2 separate regions of the Homo sapiens genome follow, and region 2 is linked to region 1. The links are contacts of gene promoters, found by promoter capture Hi-C in blood cells and fetal thymus (Javierre and others, 2016). All regions are on one chromosome and are shown on one strand. Each heading gives the region's core, a stretch centred on a gene start or on the middle of the fragment in contact. The rest is flanking DNA. Distances are from core to core; before and after follow the strand shown.

What was found. Contacts are between HindIII fragments. The CHiCAGO score rates a contact against its expected background, and 5 or more counts as called.
Region 2: a contact is called between a fragment that was not itself captured here and the fragment with the promoter of ACOX2 in region 1, in 8 of 17 cell types (total CD8 T cells, naive CD8 T cells, total B cells and 5 more). The highest score is 7.2, in total CD8 T cells.

What each region holds. Positions count from the first base shown.
Region 1 is chr3:58,535,067-58,540,849 of GRCh38, forward strand. It overlaps ACOX2 (acyl-CoA oxidase 2), which reads right to left and starts at 2,124. Exons shown (of 15, transcript NM_003500.4): 1 at 2,053-2,124; 2 at 1-131. The coding sequence starts at 40. It overlaps LOC107984079 (a long non-coding RNA gene), which reads left to right and starts at 306. Exons shown (of 3, transcript XR_001740724.2): 1 at 306-1,248. The HindIII fragment of the contact is 2,666 bases long and covers 426-3,091 here.
Region 2 is chr3:58,282,632-58,288,944 of GRCh38, forward strand. ABHD6 (abhydrolase domain containing 6, acylglycerol lipase) reads left to right here. Exons shown (of 10, transcript NM_001320126.2): 8 at 2,454-2,508; 9 at 2,722-2,822. Among named protein-coding and RNA genes, the nearest start is that of RPP14, 20 kb to the right of the region's middle. The HindIII fragment of the contact is 1,880 bases long and covers 2,265-4,144 here.

The DNA of each region.
Region 1 (5,783 bases), core at 874-3,373:
AGGTATCCCCCAATGACACTCGGTGCACTGGGCTGCCCATCCTATCCTGGATCTGTCTGGTGACTATGGAGAGACACTTCCAACCCGGCTGCTCCGAGGGTCTGCTCTCAGCATTGGTCAGTGCAAAGAACCTGTGTGCAAGAGGAACTGCCTAGGGCTGGGTGTCAGCCAGGGCTGGTTGGTAGAAGAAAGACATCCCTAAGTACCTGAATGCCACTCCACCTCCCCACTCCCCCTGTGGACACTGGCTGTGGACCAGGCACTGTGTGCATGGTAGGCATGGTATGCAGCCATTGCTTGGTACATGTTTGTTCAATACTTGTTAGCCAAAATTGGACAGGGCCTGACCCCAAAGATTGGGCTCTATCCACTGCAGTTTGAGTTACATGAATTGCCTAGGGAAATCTTCACAAAAAAGTCAGTGAAGCTTACACCTGAAGAAAATAATCCTGGAGAGGTTGAGTGGCCCCTAGCCACACAGCTGGAGATGGCCAGGAGTTGGATGGGGTCTGACCACAAAGCACATGACTTGTCCATACTACAGCTCCACTGTGGAGGATTGCTGGGGGCACCTTGGTCTCATTAAACTGCTCATAAGTTCTAGGATCACTCAGCTCCATTTCTATGAGCCCTGCAGGTATATTGTGGAACTGAAGGGAGGAAGCCTTCTTCCTGCCTGTGAAGTGTTCCCCTGGAGCCCCTGAGTGTCTTTCATACCCAGGTTGGACCCTGTCTCCTTCATGGCAAGTGCTTGGCCTCTGAGAAGCCCCTATTCCTCCACAGTGAGGCAACCATGAGGTGCAGTCCATCCTATTTCACAAGTCTCTTGAGTCCATCTGCTCCTTGCTATCTCTTTGGCTAGCATCCAGGCCACTGTTATCTCTTACTTGGCCTCAGTGTTCCTCTTATTTGTTCTCCCAGCTGCCAGGTGAACTCTTGAACTGCAAATCACATTGTTTTCCTCTCCTGCTTGGAATCTGCTCCTTGGGGCCCACTGTTTGTGGAATGGAGTCCTTGCTGTGTCTACCCAACCCTACTCCACTCACCTCTCTCCTATGTCAACTTACTGCCCTCATCCCTGGCCTCCACTCATTCTCTTCCTACCCTTTGCCCCTGCTGTTCTCTCTGAACAAAGTTCAGCTCCCTCGTTCCCTGGGTGCTCTAGGGTTAGGGACAAGTTCTTATTTGCTTACATGTTCCTCCCACAAGGCCTGGGAGGCCAGCTCTGCATTTCCTAGCTTGCAGCAGGTATGTTGTAAATCTCTCCGGCAGGCTGCCATGCTTTTGATCCCCTTCCTTCCTGACCTCAACCTGACAGATGCACTGCTGTTATTACCATTTTATGGAGAGGATGTGGGCCTTGGAAAGGGAGGAGACTTTATAAGGGTCATGCAACCACATGTAGCAAATGATTCATATGAGGCTTTCAAACCAATACCCCCAGCAGGGCTGTGGGGGTGCTGGCAAGGGGCCCCATCCTCTGCCCCCCGGAGTCCTGCAAGTGCCCCTAGTGCGGCTCCTCTCGTCCTGCCTTACCTCTTTTCCTTGCTCTGCTGCCACTGCCTCCTTGCTGTTCTGAATGCTCCAGGCCTCCCTGCCACTGCCAGCATTTGCTAGGGCATCTCCATCTGCCCAGAACACCCTTTCTTCAAATGTCACTAGGGCTTTTTGCATTGAACCTCATTTAACCTTAAAGAGGCCACCCTCTTTAAAACCCCAAGCCCCCTCCCCCGGCATTCCCTGTCCTCCTCACTCTGCTCTCCTTTTTCTCTTTTCACTTATCCCCTTCTGACATTTGAGATCATTTACTCATTTCATATGTTTTTGTTTACTTCCATCTCCCTGCTACTAACACAGAAACTGCAAGAGGGCCGGGATCTTTGTCACTGTCATGCCGTGACCCTAACACTTAGTGCAGGGCCTGATTTGCAGGAGGTGCCCAGTGAAGAAAGCCTTGCTCAGGGTCTCTCGGAGCTGCGGACAGGGTCATCATGGGGGCAGCCCTCTCCTCTGGGGTCTCCCAGTCCCTCCCTGCCCAAAAACCTGGCTCACCTGGCTCCCCTCTGTCCTGTGTCCGCACTGTAGGCCGGGCTGGCCTCTCCCCGGCTGTAGGCCGCAGCCTCTGGCAGGCTTGTGGTCCTGCCCTTCTCTCCTCCCACATAGGGGCTGGAACACAGAAGCTGAGAGAAACTGCTTGGCCAGCTCTCAAGCCCTTGTCTGCTCTCAAGCCCTTGTCTGCTCTCAAGCCCTTGTCTGCTCTCAAGCCCTTGTCTGGGCTTATGGAGCTCCTCTCCTTCCTCCCTCTCTTCCTGCATGGGTGTGACCTTTGTGCCTGTCGCTGGGGCTGCCCTGGGAGGACTTCTGGGAGGTTGGAGCCCTTACATCTCAAAGCCAGGGATTCCTTTGACACTACTTGTACCAAAAAGCTGTGTACCCCAGCAGTGTTTCCAAAGTGATATCCTGGTCTTCCCTGATCTTTCACTGTGTGCCCTTCAGGCACTCAAGCTGTTAATATCACACGAGCTTAATAGGCTCCCCTGAGATGGTCCTCATGTGAAAGGATTGCTCTGTAAGGTGTACGTTTTTCCTCTCTCCCCATGTTTCTGCTCTAAAATATGGCTTGTCTTATGCTTAGCATCCCCTGACATTCCCTGGAAAAATATTTGTGAAGCATCCATCTGTAGTGTGTGGGATCCAGATGAGAGCTGGGTCTTAGTGAGAGGAATGAGAGGCTTAGAGGTTCCCTCCCTGCATAACCACCTTGGAAAGTCAGATGCGGCTCCCCATTTTGCAGGTAAGGAAACAGGCTCAGGGAGGGATGTCACTTTGTTTGGGTTTGCACAATAAGTAGATTACGTAACACATTTGTGTAAGACTGGGAAAGAAATCAAGGGGCCAGTAGGAGATCAAGGCTCCTGTTCTGGCAGGACTTCTGAGCTATGTTGACTCTGAGCAGGTGTACTCCTTTCTGGGCCTTGGCCTCCCCTGTAATGCAAGGTATTTGCTCAGTAAGGAGCCTCACAGCACCCCATCATATCCCCAAGGTAGTGTCTAGCTTGTGTCTGTAGGAAGAGGCAGGACCTGTGGCCCAAGCTTTGCAACTTATCACCTAGTAGGTCCTTCTGGAGCTGTGGGGCTCAGACTCCTGGCAGTCCTCATTGCTGTGGGCAGTGGTTTCAGGGAAGGTGGTCTTGGCCCCACTGTTTGGAGGTGAAAGTTCTTACTTACACCTGGACTCATCTCCGCCAAGGATTTATGCTATCACTGACCATGGGCAATGACTTAGTTCCTCTCTGCCATAGAGAAAGGCTTGGATTGCAGGAAGTGCCCAGTGAAGAAAGCCTTGCTCAGGGGCCCTTGGAGCAAGGCTTTTTAATAAACTCTCCATGTTTAAATTGTTTTCTCATCCGCTTTGAAGCTGACCCTGTTCTGTATGTTTTGGATGTGATCATTTTGATTTGTTGCACTGAAATCTTGAATTCTCTAGCTTAAAAAGGCTTTTTAAATTACAAAATATTTCAAACTTGTACAAAAGTGGAGAGAAAAATATAATGAACCTGCATGTACCTAACACCCAGCACTAACAATGATCACACTTGTCTCCTTGTTCTTTGTGTTTAACTTTTTATTTTGAAATAACTTTAGAATTTCAGAAAGCTGCAAAAAGTTCTTGTATATCCTTCACTCAGCTTCTTCTAAGGTACAATTATGAAACCAAGCCATTAACACTGCTGCAATATTGTCAGCTAATCTTCAGAACTTATTTGAGTGTGTCAGAGGTTCTCCAAGATCAACCTCAGGTCCAGTGATTTGCTAGGAAGACTCATAGAACTTAGAAACTGTTATACTGAGCCAGGCGTGATGGCTCACGCCTATAATTCCATTGCTTTGGGAGGTTGAGGCTTGAGGATCACTTGAGGCCAGGAGTTTGAGACCAGCCTGGACAACATAGCAAGACCCTGTCTCTACCAAAAAAGATGTAAAAATTAGCCCAGTGTGGTGGTGTGTGCCTGTAGTGCTAGCTCTTTGGGAGGATGCAGTGGAAGGATTGCTTGGGCCCAGAAGTTCGAAGCTGCAGTGAGCTATAATGGAACCACTATACTCTAGCCTGGGTGACAGAGTGAGACTTTGCCTCTAGAACAAACAAGAAGAAACTGTAATACTCATGGTTACAGTTTATTACAGCAAAAGATTACAGATTAAAATCAGTAGAAGGAAAAGGTACATAGCACGAAGTCTAGGAGAGAATAGACTGAGCTTCTAGGTGTCCTCTCCCAGTGGTGTTGTATGGACAGCATTTAATTCTCCCAACAACGATGTTTACAATATGCACGAAGTATTGACAACCAGGGAAGCACACTTTTGAGGCAGGAGAACAGCAGAAGGAATTGGAGGTTGGATAAAGGGTGGAATGAGCGAAAGCAGAAGCAAGGTGAAGGGGTGAGTGAGCAAGAAGCAAGAGAAGAAGCAGAAGTTAAGCAGCCAAAACAAAAGTAAGATAAAAAACTGAGTAAAGAGACCCCATGGCTGGCAAGATCCTGACCAAACCAGTAAGGGGCAGCTCCTCCGAGATAGGCATGCTCATTAGAGCGAAAAAGCATCTTTAACATGACCCCGTATGATAATCAGCTCATTAAAGCTCATGCATATGGACTGCATATCATGCATGTACTTGAGATTATGGAACGGAGGCGACGTGCAAGCGCACAAGGGCCAAACAAAGTAAGCAACATGCCTATCAATCAAAAGGCAGACACTAGCTAGAGACTCGGCAGCCTTGGGAAAAGAAAGGGAAAAAAGAACACATAAGAAGACCACAAGCCCAGGAAACTGATGCTGATCTCATCTCGCAGAGGTCAGCCCACTCTGCCCTCTTTGAGAGTATAATGCTGTGCTTAATAAACTATTGCTGCTGGCTTTGCTACTTGTGTGTATCACGTCCAGTTTTTTGGTTTTTTTGTTTTTTTGTTTTTGAGACAGAGCCTTGCTCTATTGCCCAGGCTGGAATGCAGTGGCTCACTGCAACCTCTGCCTCCTGGGTTCAAGCAATTCTCTTCCCCCAGCCTCCTGAGTAGCTGGGATTACAGGCATGTGCCACCATGCCCGGCTAATTTTTGTATTTTTAGTAGAGACAGGGTTTCACCATGTTGGTCAGGCTGGTCTTGAACTTCTGACCTCAAATGATCCGCACGCCTCAGCCTCCCAAAGTGCTGGGATTATAGGCATGAGCCACAGCACCCGGCCCAGTCCAGCTTTTCGTTTGGGACACCAAGAGCCTGGAACTGCATGGCACCATCTGGCAACACCTTGGTGTCCAGAGTTATTGCAGTCATCACAGAGCCATGGGATGCTTGTGTGGCTGACCTTAGCTACTCAGTCTCCATCGACTCCAGATGTGAAACTCATAGAGTGTGGCCTAAGGACCCACTCGGAATCACATTATTAGTATAAACTGCCTGGCATGGCCCAAGGCCCCAAGTATACAAAGATACTGTTTTCAGGCAGGATATTCCAAGGGCATAGAGGTTACCTCCCAGGAGCTGTCAGGTGCCAGTCCTTTCTTTGGACTATGCAGGGTTTGAAATATTGCTGAGTTAACATTTTTCTGCATATTGAGTTTTGCTAGTTTTCCCACTAATGTTCTTTTCCTGGTTTAGGATTGAATTCAGGATCTCACGTTGCATGTAGTTAGTTGTCCTGTCTACATGAAACAGTATAGTTCCTCGGTCTTTCTTTGTCTTTTATGACCATGATACTTTGAAGAGTACTGGTCAGGTGTTTTG
Region 2 (6,313 bases), core at 1,955-4,454, 250 kb before region 1:
AGGCTGAGGTGAGAGGATCACCTGAGCCCAGGAGGCAGAGGCTGCAGTGAGCCAAGATCATGCCACTGCACTCCATCCTGGGCAACAGAGTGAGACCCTGTCTCAAAAAAACAACAACAAAAACAAAAACAGAGGTAGTATATTCTGAAGAGTAGAAGGGCAGGCTTGGGGAATATGCCAAGGACTCCATTTTTCATGTGTTAAGTTCAGGTTGCCTGTGAGGCCTCCAAGTGCAGAGGTCAAGGTGTAGCTGAGGGAAGTCTGGCCTGAAGCTGTACCACTGGAGCCATCAGCAGACGCTAATATTGAAGGTTATGGGACTGAATGAAGTCATCTAGGGAAATGGTGTGAAGAACCAAGAGAGGAGAGTCCATGGCTGAGGCTTCATAACCCCAAATTATCTCCCTCTGTTGTAGGAGCTGGACCCTGCCTGGAGGTGGGCAGGTCCTCCTAAGACTTGAGGGAATAGATCCCATTCAGAAGTTGTGAACATGGCTCAGTTAATAGATACGGCCTGTCCCTCAGGAAACACCCAGAATCTGATGCTGTGGCATGTTCCACCCCTGAAATCCCTTTTTAGCCATGAAGTAGCATTCCTTTCTCCCAGCACTGATCTCTTCCCAGAATAGAGTGGCCAAATGATGTTTTAGAAAACTCCATGTTTTGGGTTGTCAGGGATATGAAAACACCAAGAGAAAAATAAATGGCAGCTCCAAAAGTCTTTCCTTCCTAGGAGAGAAGGAGCACCTGCACACTCAGCCCACCATGTCATATTGTGTTGTGATTGCACGTCTGTGTCTTCCACTAGGGACTTTGTCTTAATTGGCTGTTCTATCCCCAGACTTTAGCACAGTGCTTGCATGAAGTAGGTCCTAGGTATAGATTGGATGGATTGATGGATGAGAGGATGCCTGGATAATGCAGGGATGGACAATGGATGGGTGGGTAGATGCAGGATAGATTTTTGCATGAATTGATTGATGTGCCAGTGCACAGATGATTTAGGTCTGCAGGATGGATAGATGGCTGAATGGTTGGATGGATGGATGGATGGGAGGATATCTGGTTAATGCAGAGATGGAGGTTGGATGGATTGATGAATACAGGATAGATAGGTAGACAAATGCATATGTGGTTCAGGATGGATGGCTGCATTGAGCAGAGGTGGAGGATGGATGGACACAAGATGAATAGATATGTGGGTACAGGTGGATAGCTGAACAAAGAAAATCTCTGATGCTGAGCACAATGTTGTTATTCAACAAATTGTCATTGTCCTCATGTCCAGGCTGAATGAGTTAGAGTCTAGTGATGCTCCAGAGGGTTGGTTTAGTCCATAGCAGCCATGGCTGGTTCTTCCCCACTTTCAGTCAGTGCACAGGACTCCTGAGAGAGTGTAATTAAAGGGTTCAGACCTGTTTGCAGGTAGAGGAGAGGAGTAGAGGAGTACAGCCACTAATGTGAACCCTGTACTCTACCTCAGGAGTCCTGAGGCAGGAGGAAGAGAAGAACTGTGTTCCTTCCAGCCACCACTACCTCTTTGGGTCAGTAGCCCAGGTCCAGAAGATGTGGCCTGTCCACATTGGCTGCAGCCCTCACCAGCCCTCAGCAGGGAAGGCAAAGACAGTGTCAAATGATAAACAAAGGGCTGTTGAACCCTCCCAGTGGGACTGTGGAACCCTCCCCAGAATCTTTTCAATAGTTTATTTCTTTGTTGTTTAATAGACCTATCATCCCCCAGTGGCTTAATTTTTTTAATGGAACTTGTTCTGCGTTTGGATATTACTGGCGAATTACTTGATATTATGGTCATCCTCATTATGTCTTTTTTTTTTTTTTGAGATAGAGTCTCACTGTCGCCCAGGTTGGAGTGCAGTGGCGCAATCTCAGCTCACTGCAACCTCCGCCTCCTGGGTTCAAGTGATTCTCCTGCCTCAGCCTCCCGAGTAGATGGGATTACAGGCCTGCACCATCACATCCTGCTAGTTTTTGTCTTTTTAGTAGAGATGGGGGTTTCACCATTTGGCCAGGCTGGTCTTGAACTCCTGGCCTCAAGTGATCTGCCCGCCTTGGCCTCCTGAAGTGCTGGGATTACAGGCATGAGCCACCATGCCCGGCCCATCCTGATTATGTCTTAAGTGAAGCAGAGAATCTCTCAAGCTAAAGTTGCTGTCAGGCCATCTCAGGTGTATTTAACATGCTGTAGGGCACCTCCAGTTTCACGATATTACCCAAGTTCCTTTATAATAATAATAATAATAAAAAGCTTCTTAGAAGCCTAACTCCCCATTAGACTGTGTGCTGCATCATGGGAATTCAGAGGACCAGGCTCTAAAGACCTTGACAGTGCAATAAATTGCTGGACCTCATTCCCATTCATTGTCCCAGAGCTGTGAGAGGCCTGAGGAAATGAATCTTCTCTTGCTCTCTAACTTTGGGTTATTTATCCTTAGATCCTGCAAGGCCTTGTCGATGTCCGCATCCCTCATAACAACTTCTACCGAAAGTGTAAGTAGCCCTACTTTCAGCTTGGAGCTTGTTACAAGTGAAGCTCTGTGGATGGATGGCTTTTATTTCTTAAATCTCTGACACTTTGAATGTCTCTTTGGGCCCCTGAAGAGAGGAAGTGGTGGCCTGGATCTGGTGACTATCCCTTGATTCTGCGGTGGTGCCACAGGCACAGTCCAGCACATACTCACTTTGTTTTCCTTTTCTGACAAGTGTTTTTGGAAATCGTCAGTGAGAAGTCCAGATACTCTCTCCATCAGAACATGGACAAGATCAAGGTTCCGACGCAGATCATCTGGGGGAAACAAGACCAGGTATGTAACACATCCCCGCGGCAGTCTGTGCTGGTCACCAGGGCCTCTGAGGAAAAACGTCCTTGAGGAAGAACAAGTGGTTATTTATGGAGTGAGCTGATCGCTGCTGTCAGGAAGAGGGGGAAGGCACCTGTGTTGGGTGCCAGTGTTGACAGTGGGCAGAGTTCTGGGAGTGGAGAGAAACAACATTTGGTCTGGTAAAAGGAAAGACAATTTTAAATCATTTTCAAAAATTGTTTTTATCAAAGCCATGTAGTCACATGGTATAAAAAGATCTTCAAAGAACACCAAAAGGTTTATAATGAAAACTTTTCTTTTTCGCATCCCAAATTCCATTCTCCATTACCATGAGGCAACTCTTATCTTACTATCTTGAATATATTTCTTTTCTTTTTTTCGTTTGAGACGGAGTCTTGCTCTGTCACCCAGGCTGGAGTGCAGTGGCCCAATCTTGGCTCACTGCAACTTCTGCCTCCCAGGTTCAAGCGATTCTCCTGCCTCAGCCTCCCAAGTAGCTGGGATTACAGGTGCCCTCCACCATGCTCACCTAATTTTTGTTTTTTGTTCTTTTGTTTTTTTTTTTTTAGACGAAGTCTTGCTCTGTTACCCAGGCTGGAGTGCAGTGGCACAATCTCGGCTCACTGCAAGCTCTGCCTCCTGGGTTCACGCCATTCTCCTGCCTCAGCCTCTCAAGTAGCTGGGACTACAGGCACCCGCCACCATGCCCAGCTAATTTTTTGTATTTTTAGTAGAGACGGGGTTTCACCATGTTAGCCAGGATGGTCTCGATCTCCTGACGTCATGATCTGCCGGCCTCAGCCTCCCAAAGTGTTGGGATTACAGGCGTGAGCCACCACACCTGGCAATTTTTGTATTTTTTTTAGTAGAGACGGGGTTTCACCATTTTGGCCAGGCTGGTCTTGAGCTCCTGACTTCAAGCAGTCCACCTTCCTTAGCCTCCCAAAGTGCTGGGATTACAAGCATGAGCCAACATGCTTGGCCTAAATTTTTTAAGCCAGAAGTTAGCAAATGTTTTCTGTAAAGGGCCAGATGGTAAACATTTTCAGCCTTGTGGTCCAGTCTCTGTCACACCTGGACACAGTTGAGTAACTGTGACCTTATAGTATAAAAGCAGCCATAGGCAATATGTAAACAAATGGCATGGCTTTTTCCAGTGAACCTTTATTTATAAAAACGGGCAGTGAGCCATTGTTTGCCTACTCCTATTCTAAGCACACGTATAGTGTATATATATGCATACCTATACATATCTGAGCTTTCAAACATGCTAGATACACTGGCATCTAAGATGCATGTTTGAAAGCTTAGATATATATAGGTGTGCATATAAGATATATAAGATCATATATGTGTGTGTGTGTGTGTGTGTGTGTGTGTGTATATATATATATATATGTATATGTATATATAAGTAGGTATCTTGGAAATCATTTTATATCAGCCCAAACAAATCTATTCCTTCTATTCTTAAAAAAATTTTATCTTGAAATAATTTCAAACTTACAGAAAATTTGAAAGAAGGCCAGGCATGGTGGCTTACGCCTATAATGCCAGCACTTTGGGAGGCTAAGGCAGGAGGATTGCTTGAGCCCAGGAGTTTGAGACCAACCTGGGCAGCATAGTGAGATCCCATCTCTATAAAAAATAAATTTTTAAAAAAGTAGCCAAGCATGGTGGTATGCATCTGTAGTCCCAGCTACTCTGGAGGGTGAGGCAGGAGGATCACTTGAGTCCAGGACATGGAGGTGGCAGTGAGCCGTGATTGCTTCACTGCACACCAGCCTGGGCCACAGGGCGGGATCCTATCTCAAAAAAATAAAAATAAAAAAGAATACAGAGTATACCTGCATACCCTTTACCTAAATGCATCAATTTTTAACTGGCAGGAGGTCACACTGTGGCCACAAAGACCCACAAGTGCATGAATGACCCAGGCAGGAGAGAGTGGGGAGGAGCAGCCAGGCTGTGCCCATGGCGTGTACGCAGAATAAGAGGCAATGGTGTCTTAGATGAGCCAGGCATGGTGAGGATTCACAGCATGGTTTTGTGGACGTGGAGAGAAGGGGATCTCATGTGCTCTCTTCTGCAGCGCCAAGGGACTGAAAGAAGCTTTGTTTGTGCCCTGGGCTATGCCAGCAGAGAGTCATTTGATCAGGAATCAGAGCCTGAGCAGCGAAGGCCTTCTGTTGTTCTAAAAACCCCAAAGGTGATTTGGGGCTCTCAGGAGCCAACAGGGAGAGGCTGTAACCCATCTTCCTGTGGAGACAGCGCAGAAGCAAGGGCACTGGCCTTGGATTCTGAAAGTCTATGTTCCAGCCCTACTTTTGTCCTTGGTCAGCCCATGCATGACCTTGAGCAAGTAACTCAGCCCCTCTAAATTAAGGGTTTCTGAAACTTCTAGTACCAGGGTTATTTTGAGGCTCAAATGAAATAATATGTATGAAAATGATCTTCCAGTTGCAAAAAAGTTAGGTTAGCTGGTATTAGATTAGACTGCTCATGTCCTTTGCCTCTGTTGGTGGCTTCAATGCATGGTCCAAATTTTTTTCCCAGACTCAGAAGTCCGTTTCATTCCAGAAAAAGAGCCTAACATTCTATGGGCTTGCTATAAATGTGATCAGATCCTTCATGTGTTTTGTGGACTGTCCCTGGGACAGAGGCCAAATAGCAGAGGCTTCAGGGAGTCTTTTATTTCACAGCCTTTTGCCTCCCAAGCTCGCTGGCTCTTTTCCTGCTCTGTCATCAACATTTGGTGTCACAGCACCTGCCCCTACCAGGCCAAATTCAGCTTCCTTCTTCTTTGGACCCCTGTAGGCTGACTGCTATACTGCACAGCTGCAGGGGGAGCCATGTGCATTGTCATTTTTGTGAATGATGGATTTGGTCTGTATACAACCTGTACACCCAAACATGGCAGCCCTTCCTGAGAGGGTTTCTGCATGCTTCATTTCAAGCATCGCTCCTCTATGTTCAGTCCATCAAAATGGGAGGGCCATCTAGAGACAGACAGGCTATTATTCTTTATGTCCCTTCTCCCTGCCAGCACCGTGCCTGGTATGCAGGAGACCCAGAGTACACAGTGAGTGAGCAAACAAGTGAGAAATTGAGTGAACAAACCAACTAGTGAAGGGATAAACCCACTGACTGACTACACATTTAAGCCAGTTAACAGGCATTTATTGAGCACCTAGTATGTGCCTAACACTGTATTAGGCCCTGAGGATACAGTAGGGACCAAGACAGCCAGGATCCCTGCCCTCCAGCAATTTATCGTCTACCTACCCTTATAGTGCATAACAGGCCCGAGACAAGGGTGAGATGAGAGAGATGTGTCATGCAGGTGCAGGGTCAGATCCTGTCTGTATTTATGATTTTGATATTTTGTTCATCATGTGCCTTTTTCCATTAATGTTTTTTTTAACATACTGCACTAAAATATTTTCTCTTAATTTATGAGTTTTTTGGCACTT